2 separate regions of the Homo sapiens genome follow, and region 1 is linked to region 2. Evidence: promoter capture Hi-C in 16 types of primary human blood cells and fetal thymus (Javierre and others, 2016). All regions are on one chromosome and are shown on one strand. The core of a region is centred on a gene start or on the middle of the fragment in contact, and the rest is flanking DNA. Distances in the headings are between cores, read along the strand shown.

Region 1 (5,947 bases), core at 2,477-4,976, 100 kb before region 2:
CCACGCCCGGCTAATTTTTTGTATTTTCAGTAGAGACGGGTTCTCACCGTGTTAGCCAGGATGGTCTCGATCTCCTTGAGAGGTGACAGCGTGCTGGTAGTCCTCACAGCCCTCGCTCACTCTCGGCGCCTCCTCTGCCTGGGCTCCCAATTTGGTGGCACTTGAGGAGCCCTTCAGCCCGCCACTGCACTGTTGGAGCCCCTTTCTGGGCTGGCCAAGGCCAGAGCCGGCTCCCTCAGCTTGCGGGGAGGTGTGGAGGGAGAGGCACGAGCGGGAACCGGGCTGCGTGCGGTACTTGCGGGCCGGCGCGAGTTCCAGGTGGGTGTGGGCTCCACGGGCCCCGCACTCGGAGCGGTCGGCCGGCACCGCCGCCCCGGCAGTGAGAGGCTTAGCACTTGGGCCAGCAGCTGCTGTGCTCAATTTCTCGCCGGGCCTTAGCTGCCTTCCCGTGGGGCAGGGCTCGGGACATGCAGCCCACCATGCCTGAGCCTCCCCCCCGCCCCCTCCGTGGGCTCCTGTGTGGCCCGAGCCTCCCCGACGAGCGCTGCCCCCTGCTCCACGGCGCCCAGTCCCATCGACCACCCAAGGGCTGAGGAGTGCGGGCACACTGCAGCGCCAGACTGGCAGGCAGCTCCATCTGCGCCCTGGTGCGGGATCCATTGGGTGAAGCCAGCTGGGCTCCTGAGTCCGGTGGGGACTTGGAGAACCTTTATGTCTAGCTCAGGGATTGTAAATACACCAATCGGCACTCTGTATCTAGCTCAAGGTTTGTAAACACACCAATCAGCACCCTGTGTCTAGCTCAGAGTTTGTGAATGCACCAAATGGACACTCTGTATCTAGCTACTCTGGTGGGGACTTGGAGAACTTTTATGTATAGCTAAGGGATTGTAAATACACCAGTCAGCACCCTGTGTCTAGCTCAGGGTTTGTGAATGCACCAATCGACACTCTGTATCTAGCTACTCTGGTAGGAACTTGGAGAACCTTTGTGTCCACACTCTGTATCTAGCTAACCTAGTGGGGAGGTGGAGAACCTTTGTGTCTAGCTCAGGGATTGTAAACTGCACCAATCAGCACCCTGTCAAAACAGACCACTTGGCTCTCTGTAAAATGGACCAATCAGCAGGATGTGGGTGGGGCCAGATAAGAGAATAAAAGCAGGCTGCCCTAGTCAGCAGTGGCAACCTGCTGGGGTCCTCTTCCACCCTGTGGAAGCTTTGTTCTTTCACTCTTTGCAATAAATCCTGCTGCCGCTCACTCTTTGGGTCCACACTGCCTTTATGAGCTGTAACAGTCGTCGCGAAGGTCTGCAGCTTCACTCCTGAAGCCAGCGAGGCCACAGACCCACCGGGAGGAACGAACAACTCCAGACGCGCCGCCATAAGAGCTGTAACACTCACCACAAAGGTCCGCAGCTTGACTTCTGAGCCAGCGAGAGCACGAACCCACCGGAAAGAAGAAACTCCGAACACATCCGAACATCAGAAGGAACAAACTCCGGACACGCCGCCTTTAAGAACTGTAACACTCACCGCGAGGGTCCACGGCTTCATTCTTGAAGTCATTGAGACCAAGAACCCACCAATTCCGGACACATCCTGAACTCCTGATCCGCCCACTTCAGCCTCCCAAAGTGCTGGGATTACAGGCGGGAGCCACCGCGCCTGGCCACCCTTTTTATATTTTCTCGTCTACAAAAAATGGAATATGAATATCCACTCCTTCAAACTATGAAACTACTACAAGAAAAAATCAGAAAAATTTCCAGGACATTGGTCTGGGCAAAAATTCCTTGAGCAAAAACTCATAAAAGCACAGGCAACCAAAGCAAAAAATGGACAAACGGGATTACATCAAGGTAAAAAGCTTCTGCACAGCAAAGGAAACAATCAACAAAGTGAAGAGACAACCCACAGAATGGGAGAAAATATTTGCAAACTACCCATCCGACAAGGGATTAATAACCCGTATATATAAGAAGCTGAAACAACTCTATAGGAAAAAATCTAATCCAATCAAAAATAGGCAAAATATTTGAACAGACATTTTTCAAAAGAAGACATATAAATGGCAAACAGGAACAGGAAAAGGTGCAACAACACTGATCATCAGAGAAATGCAAATCAAAACTACAAGGAGATATAGCACCCCAGTTAAAATGGCTTATATACAAAAGACAGGCAGTAACAAATGCTGGTGAGGACGTGGAGAAAACGGAGCCCTCATACACTGTGTACAACCACTATGGAGAAAAGTTTGGAGGTTTCTCAAAAAACTAAAAATTGAGCTACCATATGATCCAGCAATCCCAGTGCTGAATATATACCCAAAAGAAAGGAAATCGGAGCCAAGCGTGGTGGCTCACGCCTGTAATCCCAGCACTTTGGGAGGCCGAGGCGGGCAGATCACGAGGTCGGGAGATCGAGACCATCCTGGCTAACACGGTGAAACCCCATCTCTACTAAAAATACAAAAAATTAGCCAGGCGTGGTGGCGGGTGCTGGGACTCCCGAGTAGTCCCAGCTACTCGGGAGGCTGACGCAGGAGAATGGCATGAACCCGGGAGGCGGAGCTTGCAGTGAGCTGAAATCGTGTCACTGTACTCCAGCCTGGGAGACAGAGTGAGACTCCTTCTCAAAAAAAAAAAAAAAAAAAAAAGGAAATCGGTATATCAAAGAGATATGTTTGTTGCAGCACTGTTCACAATAGCCAAGATTTAGAAATAACCTAAGTGTCCATTAACAGATGAATGGATAAAGAAAATGTGGTACTCATATACAATGGAATACTATTCAGCCATAAAAAAAAAATGAGAGCCATTCATTTGCAACAACAAGGATGGAACCAGAGGTCATTATGTTAAGTGAAATAAGCCAGGCACAGAAAGACAAACATTGCATGTTCTCACTTATTTGTGGGATGGAAAAATCAAAACAATTGAACTCATGAACATACAGAGTAGAAGGATGGTTACCAGAGGCTGGGGTTGGGTGGGGAAGTGGGGAGCTGAGGGGAGGTGGAGATGGTTAACGGATACCAAAAAATAGTTAGAAAGAATGAATGTGTGCTACTATTTGATAGCACAACACGACGACTATAGTCAATAATAATTGTACATTTTAAAATAACTTAAAGAGTATAATTGGATTGCTTGTAACTCAAGGGATAAATGCTTGAGAGGATGGATACCCAATTTACTCTGATGTGCTTATTTCACTTCCATGCCTATATCAAAACATCTCTGGTACTCCACAAATACATTCACCTACTATGTACCCACAAAAATTAAAAATTAAAAGAAAAAAAAGAAAATGGTTGGGCACAGTGGCTCACACTTGTAATTCCAGCACTTTGGGAGGCCGAGGTGGGCAGATAACTTTAGCTCAGGTGTTCAAGACCAACCTGGGCAACATGGTGAAACCCTATCTCTACAAAAAATGTAAAAATTAACTGGGTGTGGTCAAGCACTCCTGTAGTTCCAGCTACTTGGGAGGCTAGGGTGGGAGGATCGCTTAAGCCCACGAGGTTGAGGCTGCAGTGAGCCATGATCCCACCACTGCACTCCAGCCTAGGCGACAGAGTGAGATCCTGTCACAAAAAAAAAGAATACCCACTCCACAGAGTTGTTGATAATTATATAAGAAATTATATAATACACAGATAGAAGGTGCTTAATAAATGTTAGCTCCCTTCCTCCCCACCTCTCCTTTTCTGCATCCCTGTCCTATTTCTTTAGAAATGAAATTTAACACTTTATAATACCTTTAATATATGATGATTTTAGTTCACTTTAAAAACTTTTGTATTGAGGTATAATTTACATACAATAAAGTATGTAAAGTATAAAAATGACAATTTTATATATGTGTATACACCTATATAATCACTACTCAGAGCCAAATATAGAACATTTATTTATAGCATCCTCCCAGATATTCCTGCACGCCACATACGACCAATACCCCTCCAAAGGTAACCATTATTCTGCCTTCACCATTATTACTAAAGTATTTTTAAATTATGTCAAAAATAAATGACAGTATATCTATACTAAGGAATAAAAAAGCACTAGTTAAAACAAAGGAAGTAGAGCTATACATGCCAACATGGAAATATCCCAAGATATATTGTTCTGTATTACTAAGGTAATTGAAAATTAATAACAGAAATGCTAATGGAAAGAGGTAGATGGAAAGGAGAACAGAAATATGATGGGTAAAGCTCTTTTAGTCTTTTTGAAATCTTCATTAAGCCTGGCGAGGTGGCTCACACCTGTAATCCCAGCACTTTGGGAGGCCTAGGCTAGCGGATCACTTGAGGTCAGGAGCTGGGGACCAGCCTGGCCAACATAGTGAAACCTTGTCTCTACTAAAAAAAAGAAAAACAAAACAAAAAAAAAAAACAAAAAAAATTAGCTGGGTGTGGTGGTGCATGCCTGTAGTCCCACCTACTTGGGAGGCTGGGGCGGGAGAATTGCTTGAACCCAGGAGGCAGAGGTTGAGTGAGCCAACATCACACCACTGCACTCCAGCCTGGGGGACAGAGTAAGACTCTGTCTTGGCCAGGCAGGGTGGCTCATGCCTGTAATCCCAGCACTTTGTAAGGCTGAGGCAGATCACAAGGTCAGGAGTTCGAGACCAGCCTGACCAACATAGTGAAACCCCATCTCTACTAAAAATACAAAAATTAGCCAGGTGTGGTGGCACGTGCCTGTAGTCCCAGCTACTTGGAAGGCTGAGGCAGGAGAATCGCTTGAACCTGGGAGACAGAGGTTGCAGTGAGCCAAGACCACGCCACTGCACTCCAGCCTGGGTGACAGAGTAAGACTTCGTCTCAAAAAAAAAAAAAAAAAAAAAAAAATCCTTACTAAGCATGCCTTCACTTTGTGGCAGAAGTATCCAAACTGAATTCAGTCACCTAAATTGGAAGCATAGCAGGAATCATTGAGAGACCACATATTTGCAGAAACAAATGTACACCTCTCCCTCTAACTTGGACACCACCACATCCTGAGCTGAAACTCTTCATAATCCTTGCAGGGCCACACCTTTTCTATCGCCAGCCAAAGGGCCAAAATGAAAGACAGAGAGGCCTGCGGGTTCAGATCACTGCAGCCTTGCTGTGCAATAATATAGATGCCAGCACTGGGGTTTATCCGACTCTTCCCAAAAGTCACAACCAAATATAGTTTCTCCTGAGATGTAGTGAATAAGCCTGGCCTAAAAGATTGTGGTGGTCAAAATCAACCTAATAGGGCAAGGCCTTACCTAGAAAGTTCTGAACCGATCTAATTTGCATCTAAACCTTCAAACTAACTTTTTGTTAATATCTGGATTTAAATAGTAAACAACTAAATGAGTTCAAATGAAGAGGAAACAACAGGTTTATTTTTCAAACTTATGCAAACGGTTTCTGAAACCACCTTCACACTCCCTTTGCAAGTCAGTGTGAATGAATGGGTGGGCACACAGTAGTTGCACTTTAATCCATTTTCTTTTTCAATTGCCAGCACGAGGCTTGAGAGCTTCCTTGTTAACAATTCTCACAGGCCAAACCCTTCTCCAGTGCAATGTAAGCTTCTTTCCTCTTGTCCTGTTGTTTGTGGAGATGAGAAACAACCAATGTTTTTCTGTTAATGACCCTTCAAATCAGTTGGACCTTTCTTCTCTAAGTTAACTAACCCTACAGCTTTCTGGCCTTTCCTCATAGCCTTTATTTTCCAAGCCTTAATTACATTTTTGCTCTTCTCTGGAGCTCTGCCAGTTCCCCACAACCTCCTTAAAGGGGAGACACAAAGTAGCCACAGTTGAGGTCAGACCAGTGCTGGGAAAAGCTGAGAAGCCACTTCCTGCCCTTTGACTTTTATGCATCCCACTATCTTACTGACTTTATAAATAAACAGCACTCATTGAACTAATTCTAGCAGGGCTGTCATTCAAGCTGA
Region 2 (6,671 bases), core at 771-3,270:
AAAAATTTTAAAGCATTTATTAATTTATAAATACTTATTGTGCAAGATACTATGCTAGATATTGTGGGAGATACAAGGATGAATAAAGTGTTGTATTATATTCACTTTTGGAGGATAACTTCTTGAAATAATTAGGTGGCAAATGATGATTCCCACAAGAAAGGAAGAGAAGTCTAAAAGAAGTTGGTCAGCAGGATCATCTTCATTTATAAGAGATAGTATTATTCTTTTATTATTTTTATTTTTTATTATACTTTAAGTTCTAGGGTACATGTGCACAACGTGCAGCTTTGTTACATATGTATACATGTGCCATGTTGGTGTGCTGCACCCATTAACTCATCATTTACATTAGGTATATCTCCTAATGCTATCCCTCCCCCCTCTCCATCCCCCCAACAGGCCCCTGTGTGATATATTCCCTGCTTTGTGTCCAAGTGTTCTCATTGTTCAAGTCCCACCTATGAGTGAGATCATGTGGTGTTTGGTTTTCTGTCCTTGCGATAGTTTGCTGAGAATGATGGTTTCCAGCTTCATCCATGTCCCTACAAAGGACATTAACTCAACCTTTTTTATGGCTGCATAGTATTCCGTGGTGTATATGTGCCACATTTTCTTAATCCAGTCAAGAGATAGTATTATTCTATACAAGAATATTGACATACCTACTGAACTTAAAATACAAAAGGGCAGTTATGTTTCAAAAGTACAGATATCTCAAGTGTGAAAGGCAGCCAGTATCTGTATTGTATGGTTCTAAATACCAATTTGAAACAGATTGTGTACCAGTTTGGAACAGATTGTACAAAAAAGACTGAAACCACTTGAAAGTCCTCAAGAATATCAGGAAGTAAGAATGTAATTAACCAAACCAGGATTTGGCCCCAGGACAGAGAAATGAACACTCTCATTCTTAGAGAGGGAGCTAGGATTTCAGGAATGTACAGTCAATGCTTTGTGAAAATTTAAATAAATTCTTAGCAAGCAGATGGGAAGACATGAAAAAGCAATGTTCATTGCAACCAATTTCAGGTCACACTCCCAATTTCTCAATTGTTTTAATGCTGTCAACAAACTTGCTTTGCATGTAGCCAAGCAAACATAACTTAGTTCCATTTGTTCCTTTCTTTGATCAACTTTAGGTGAAGGTCAAAATAAGGACATACTTAAAATCTAAAAGTCTGCCGAAGTCAAGCCTGCATCTAAAGAGGCAGCAGCTGAGCTTAGCGATAAGGAAAAATGCCGACACCTTACTACTACACAATTCCGATGGGGTGGGGGGACAGAAATTAAGGAGGCAGGATTAACAGATTTCGAAGTTTAAAAAGTAAAGGTCATCGAAATGTCCCGTTCCTAAGTTTCCCAATACATTCCATGAAACTGCAGAGACTTTTTGGCCAAAATGGGATTTCCTAAAGAAGGGCCTCACAGATCTCAACGACAATGGTCCTGTAAGTGACCGAGCCAACCCCGGATGCGTTTCTGGAGTCTCTGAATACACGGACAGCGTATAAAGGTGGATGCGTACAGCTCCCTGACAGAACTGCTGGAGGCTGCTGTGCCTCCCAGGGCGCTAGGACAGAGGCTGCTGGGCCGGCTTCCTATGAAAGGCGAGCAGGGGGTGGGGCAGCACTGGGATTTTCCTCCCCACTCATTCATTCTCTGATTCACTCGTTCCTGTAGGCGGCTCACAGGGACTTGCGGAGGAAAGGCGAGGCACGAGCGGAGCCGCGGTTGAGTGCGGCCGGGCGCGGCCGGGCGCCTGAAGGGAGGGCGGAGGGCCGGCGCGGGGCGCGGGCTAGGGAAGGGCGGCGGGCGCGGCGGCCTGCGCCGGAAGTGAGTGGTTGGCGGCGGGCGGGGGCGGCGCGCGGTCCCGCGCGAGTCGGCCCTACAGTCGGCAGTCCGGCCCTCAACCCCGCCTTCTGCGTCTCGGCTGGACGCGAGCACACTCGGCTCCGCCGCCGCCGCCGCCGCCGCGGGGCGCTGCGGCCGCCCCGCCCCCGCTCCCGCCGCCGCCCGCCAGTCAGTCAGTCAGTCAGTCAGTCAGTCAGTCAGTCAGTCACTGAGCGCGCGGCGCGGGAGCTGCTGGCAGTCGCTGCGTCTCTGGCGAGGGAGCGCCGCGCCTGGGGAGGAGGCGGAGGCAGCGGCTGGAGGAGCGCGAGCGGCGGTTTCCTTGCCCGGGGCCGCGGGAAGGCCGACCGACTGCCGCGGTGAGTGGTTAGCCTCGCCCTCGGGGCCAGGGGGTAGGGAGCCGGCTGGGCGCGGGGCCGTGAGGCGCTCCTGCCGCTCCCGCCTCCATTTTCCCGGCGCCCGGCCCCGCCATCCGGGTGCGGTACGGTCGGCGGCAGCCTGGGGCGGGGTCGTTGCCAGGTTGGGGATCGGGCCGGGGCTGGCTGGACCGCTCCCGGCTGGTGGATGGAGGTCGGTGGGGCCTGGACTGCACCCTGCGCCCCTGGGGACCGCGACGGAGGGAGACAATGAGATAAGGGGCCGCCTGGGAGGGTGCGGTTAGGCTTCTCCGACCCAGCACCGGGGGCTGGTGGCCCGGGACCGCAGGGAGGAAAGGACTTTCCCCCGCCCAGCTGCAGAAACCAGCTACTGGATGTCGGGTTGCTTGGGTTTCGATGCCCCCATCTTTCATAGATGAGTTCAGTGCAGAGATTTTGAAAGGCGGGGCTCCTTCTGTGTCTTCTTTCTAATTAAACAGGATAAGTAATTGCTTCATTGCTTTTTAACCGCGTCTCCTCTTGCGGTCTGTATTATACATTCCCGCCGGAAATCCAAACTGCAATTCATGGGGGGGGGGGGGGGGTGGACGGAGGGAGGGGGCAGTGTGATAGTATTAGGATGCCTTCGTGTTAAGACAGGTTGAAAGATGTGGTTTTCTTAAGGCAGTGACTTAGGGTGTCCCCACTGTGTGAGCTGGAAACCGCATAAACCTTATTGCTTACAAGCTCGAAGACATGGTTTAATATGAAATAAGAGCCTTGAGGGAGGGTGTAAGTGTTACATGTGTCTTGCGTGTGTGCATTTCTTAAATTCTTTGGGAAGATCCGTTGGGGAAATCCGGGAGAATGGAAAAGTTCTTCACTCAATCTTCCAATAAGGGTTGATGTTGTCTGCAGCATTTCTCAGGGAAATGTGGAGAGCTGCTTATGTAGGTAAAGTCCACCGTTAAGGAACAGTAAAGGTAACGGGTTAGGGATGAGGCGTGATCGGATTATTAAAGAGTCAGTCCATGGGGATATTAAATTCAGCAAACATTTATGGAATACCTACTCTGTCAGTTAGGCTGGGTGACACCAGGTGAACAAGCATGGGGTGGTGGAAAGAGCTCTTCGGAGTGGGGGAAACCGTACGCCCTGGAATTGGCTTGCAATGTGAGTTGGATAAGCTATTGAACTCTGCAGTACGTTCCCTATCAGTAAAATGGGAATAACACCACCTGTTTACCTCCCCAGATGTTTTTCATGTAGATTAAATGAGATAATGTATGCAAAATGCGTAGCACCTTGCCTGGCATAGAGGTGTTTAACAGCACCTTAAATTCCTTTCCTCCTCGGGGTGGTTTTTTTGGGGGTGCGGTGCGGGGGGTTAGTGAATGTAGGTAAGTGTAATACAGTGAACTATATAGTAAAATGTTGAGGTATAGAATAGGAGAGCGAAGAAGAGAGATTAATTCTAAATTGAGGGAGGAATGCATGGAAGCCTCGGCATTTAAGTGAAACCTTTAAGGATGAGTAGGATTTCAGCAGATTCAGATGGGGAGGAGGACATTTCACATGGTGGTGCTATCCTTTGAGAGCCGAATTGAGGGGGAGGACCTTTGGGGGAGGGGCAAAATAGAGACGCTCAATAGCTTTTAACTCTTGTTGAGTCTGACCTTCAAAGATTGTCTCCGTTATTTTGCTTTTTGTGTGGTGAATTTCCCAGAAACCAGATGCAGCCCTACTCAAGTAAGTACAAAAAGCTTAATTCATGATTTTTTGGGTTAGACATTTTGTATAATTTAGATTGCTGTCTCCTGTTTGAATGTAATAAAGAATTATTTGTAGATGTTGCCTTATGATAAACGTTAGCTTTATTTGGTAGAAGCAGCAGCTTATTTTTCAGACTCAGAGGTCTCACTAAGATTATAGAGTATGTGACTGGGTGAAAGGAGTGGAGTAGTGGGCACTATTGGGTGTGTTTTCACAAATATTTAACTCTTTATTTTCCAAAGAGGTGTTTTTAACCATTGTCTTTGAGGATGATTATGTCTTTTGGTTTTGCTGCCCTTTGGTGCTCACCCCATAAATACTTACTAGATTGGCATCGTGGATAACTGTCACACTATTCACAGATTCTTGGTTACACATTGTAGAATCTCATGGCTTTGGTTGCCTTGGTTTGGAAGTAATTGAATGTCAACATTAGTATTGTTAATCCCAAACACTTAATTTTAGGAAAATTAATATTAGTGAAGCAAGATGTGACCTCAGGCAGATAACTTATCTTGGACTCTTAATTCCTTTACCTATAAAATGAGAAGTTTGGATTAGATCACTGCTTCTTAAACTGTTTCACTGAACTTGAGAATTTCAGAGATTCTGCAGATGTTTGACTTTAATCTCAATAAAAATGTATTTTAAACTTATAATAATAAAAAGTGGCCACTGTATGACGTACACTGTTTTAAACACTTTATATGTGATAATTTATTTAATTCTCGCCATAACCCTATGAAATAGAGTCTATTATTTGAGAAAATAGGCACAGACAATAAGTTGCCCAAAGACTGCAGAGCTATAGTGGCAGAGCTGGATTTGAAACCGGGCAGCCTAATTCTTAAGCTTGTATTCTTAACCATGTTTTTACACTGCCACTAAAGCAACACACACATATACTCTTTGAAAGAAATGTGGTAAAGTATGCATAACATACAAATTACCATTTTAACTATTTTTAAGTGTACAGTTCAGTGGCTTAAGTACATTATTGTGCCATCATCACCACCATCTCCAGAAATTTTTTATCATCCCAAACTGAAATTCTTCCCATTAAACAGTAATTCTACAAGCCACAGTGCGCTATGATCATGCACACTGGGTGACAGAGTGAGACCCTGTTCAAAAACAAAACAGTAACTATCCACTTCCCTCCCTCTACCCTACCCTCCTAGTAACAACTTTTCTACTTTTGACTCACACAATATTGATTCTTGTGTCTGGCTTATGTTACTTAACACACTGTCTTCAAGATCATCCATGTAGGATGTATCATAATTCCATTCCTTTTTCAGACTGATTAATATTCCGTTGTATGTATATACCACATTTATGGATATTTGGGTTGTTTCCACCTTTGGGGTACTGTGAATAATGCTGCCTTGAGTATTGGTATACAACTGTTTGAATCCCTCCTTTCGGTTCTTTTTTCAGTATTTCTATACACCCAGAAATGGGATTGCTAGATTGTATGCTAATTCTATATTTAATTTTTGAGGAACTGCCATATTGCATTCCACAGCAGCTGCACCATTTTACATTCCCACTAGCAATGCACAAAGGTTCCAGTTTCTCTGTATCTTGCCAACACTTCTTTTCTAGTGTTTTTTCTTTTTATGTTTTTGATAATAGCTATTCTAATGGGCGTGGTGTGGTATTTCATTGTGGTTTTGATTTGAATTTTCCTAATGATTAGGGATGTTGAGCATCTTTTCGTATGCTTATTGTCCATTTGTATATCTGAGGAGAAATGTCTATCCAAGTCCTTGACTCATTTTTAAAGTAGGTTGTTTTTTGGTGAGTTGTAGGAGTTCTTTGTACACTCTGGATATTAATCCCTTATCAAATATATGATTTGCAAACATTTTCTCCCATTTTATGGGTTATCTTTTCACTGTCTTGATAGTATCCTTTTGCACAAATTTTTTTTTTTATACTTCAAGTTCTGATGTACATATGCACAACGTGCAGGTTTGTTACATAGGTATACGTGTGCCATGTTTGTTTGCTGCCCCCATTGACTCGTCATTTACATTAGATATTTCTCCTAGTGCTATCCCTCCCCCAGCCCCCCACTCCCCAAACACAAAAGTTTTAAATTTTGAGGAAGTCCAATTTATTTTTTCTTCTGTCTGTGCTTTTGGTGTTATATCCAAGAGGCTGTAGCCAAATCCAATGTCATGAAGGTTTTCCCTGTTTTCTTTTAGGAGTTTTATAGTTTCAACTCTTATGTTTAGGTCTTTGATCCATTTGGGATTAATTTTTGCAAATGTGTTAGGTAAGGGTCCAACTTCATTCTTTTGCATATCCAGTTTTCCCAGCACCATTTGTTGAAAGGACTGTCCTTTCCCCATTGAATGGTTCTGGCACTCATACTCATTCATATATACACATGTGTATATTTATATGTATGCATGTGTGTATATAATTTTTTTTTTTTTTTGAGATGGAGTCTTACTCTGTTGCCCAGGCTGGAGTGCAATGGCACAATCTCAGCTCACTGCAACCTCTGCCTCCCAGGCTCAAGCGATTCTCCTGCCTCAGCCTCCCGAGTAGCTGGGATTACAGGCATGCACCACCGTGCCCAGCTCATTTTTGTATTTTTAGTAGAGACAGAGTTTCATCATGTTGCCCAGGCTGATCTTGAACTCCTGACCTCAGGTGATCTACCTACCTCGGCTTCCC

The links. Contacts are between HindIII fragments. The CHiCAGO score rates a contact against its expected background, and 5 or more counts as called.
Region 1: a contact is called between a fragment that was not itself captured here and the fragment with the promoter of RAPH1 in region 2, in 1 of 17 cell types (M0 macrophages). The highest score is 5.0, in M0 macrophages.

What each region holds. Positions count from the first base shown.
Region 1 is chr2:203,637,521-203,643,467 of GRCh38, reverse strand. No RefSeq gene overlaps it. Among named protein-coding and RNA genes, the nearest start is that of CD28, 66 kb to the left of the region's middle. The HindIII fragment of the contact is 3,710 bases long and covers 1,872-5,581 here.
Region 2 is chr2:203,530,650-203,537,320 of GRCh38, reverse strand. It overlaps RAPH1 (Ras association (RalGDS/AF-6) and pleckstrin homology domains 1), which reads left to right and starts at 2,020. Exons shown (of 14, transcript NM_213589.3): 1 at 2,020-2,210. RefSeq lists silencers at 1,872-1,941, 1,992-2,081, 2,152-2,251. The HindIII fragment of the contact is 18,695 bases long and covers 1-3,972 here.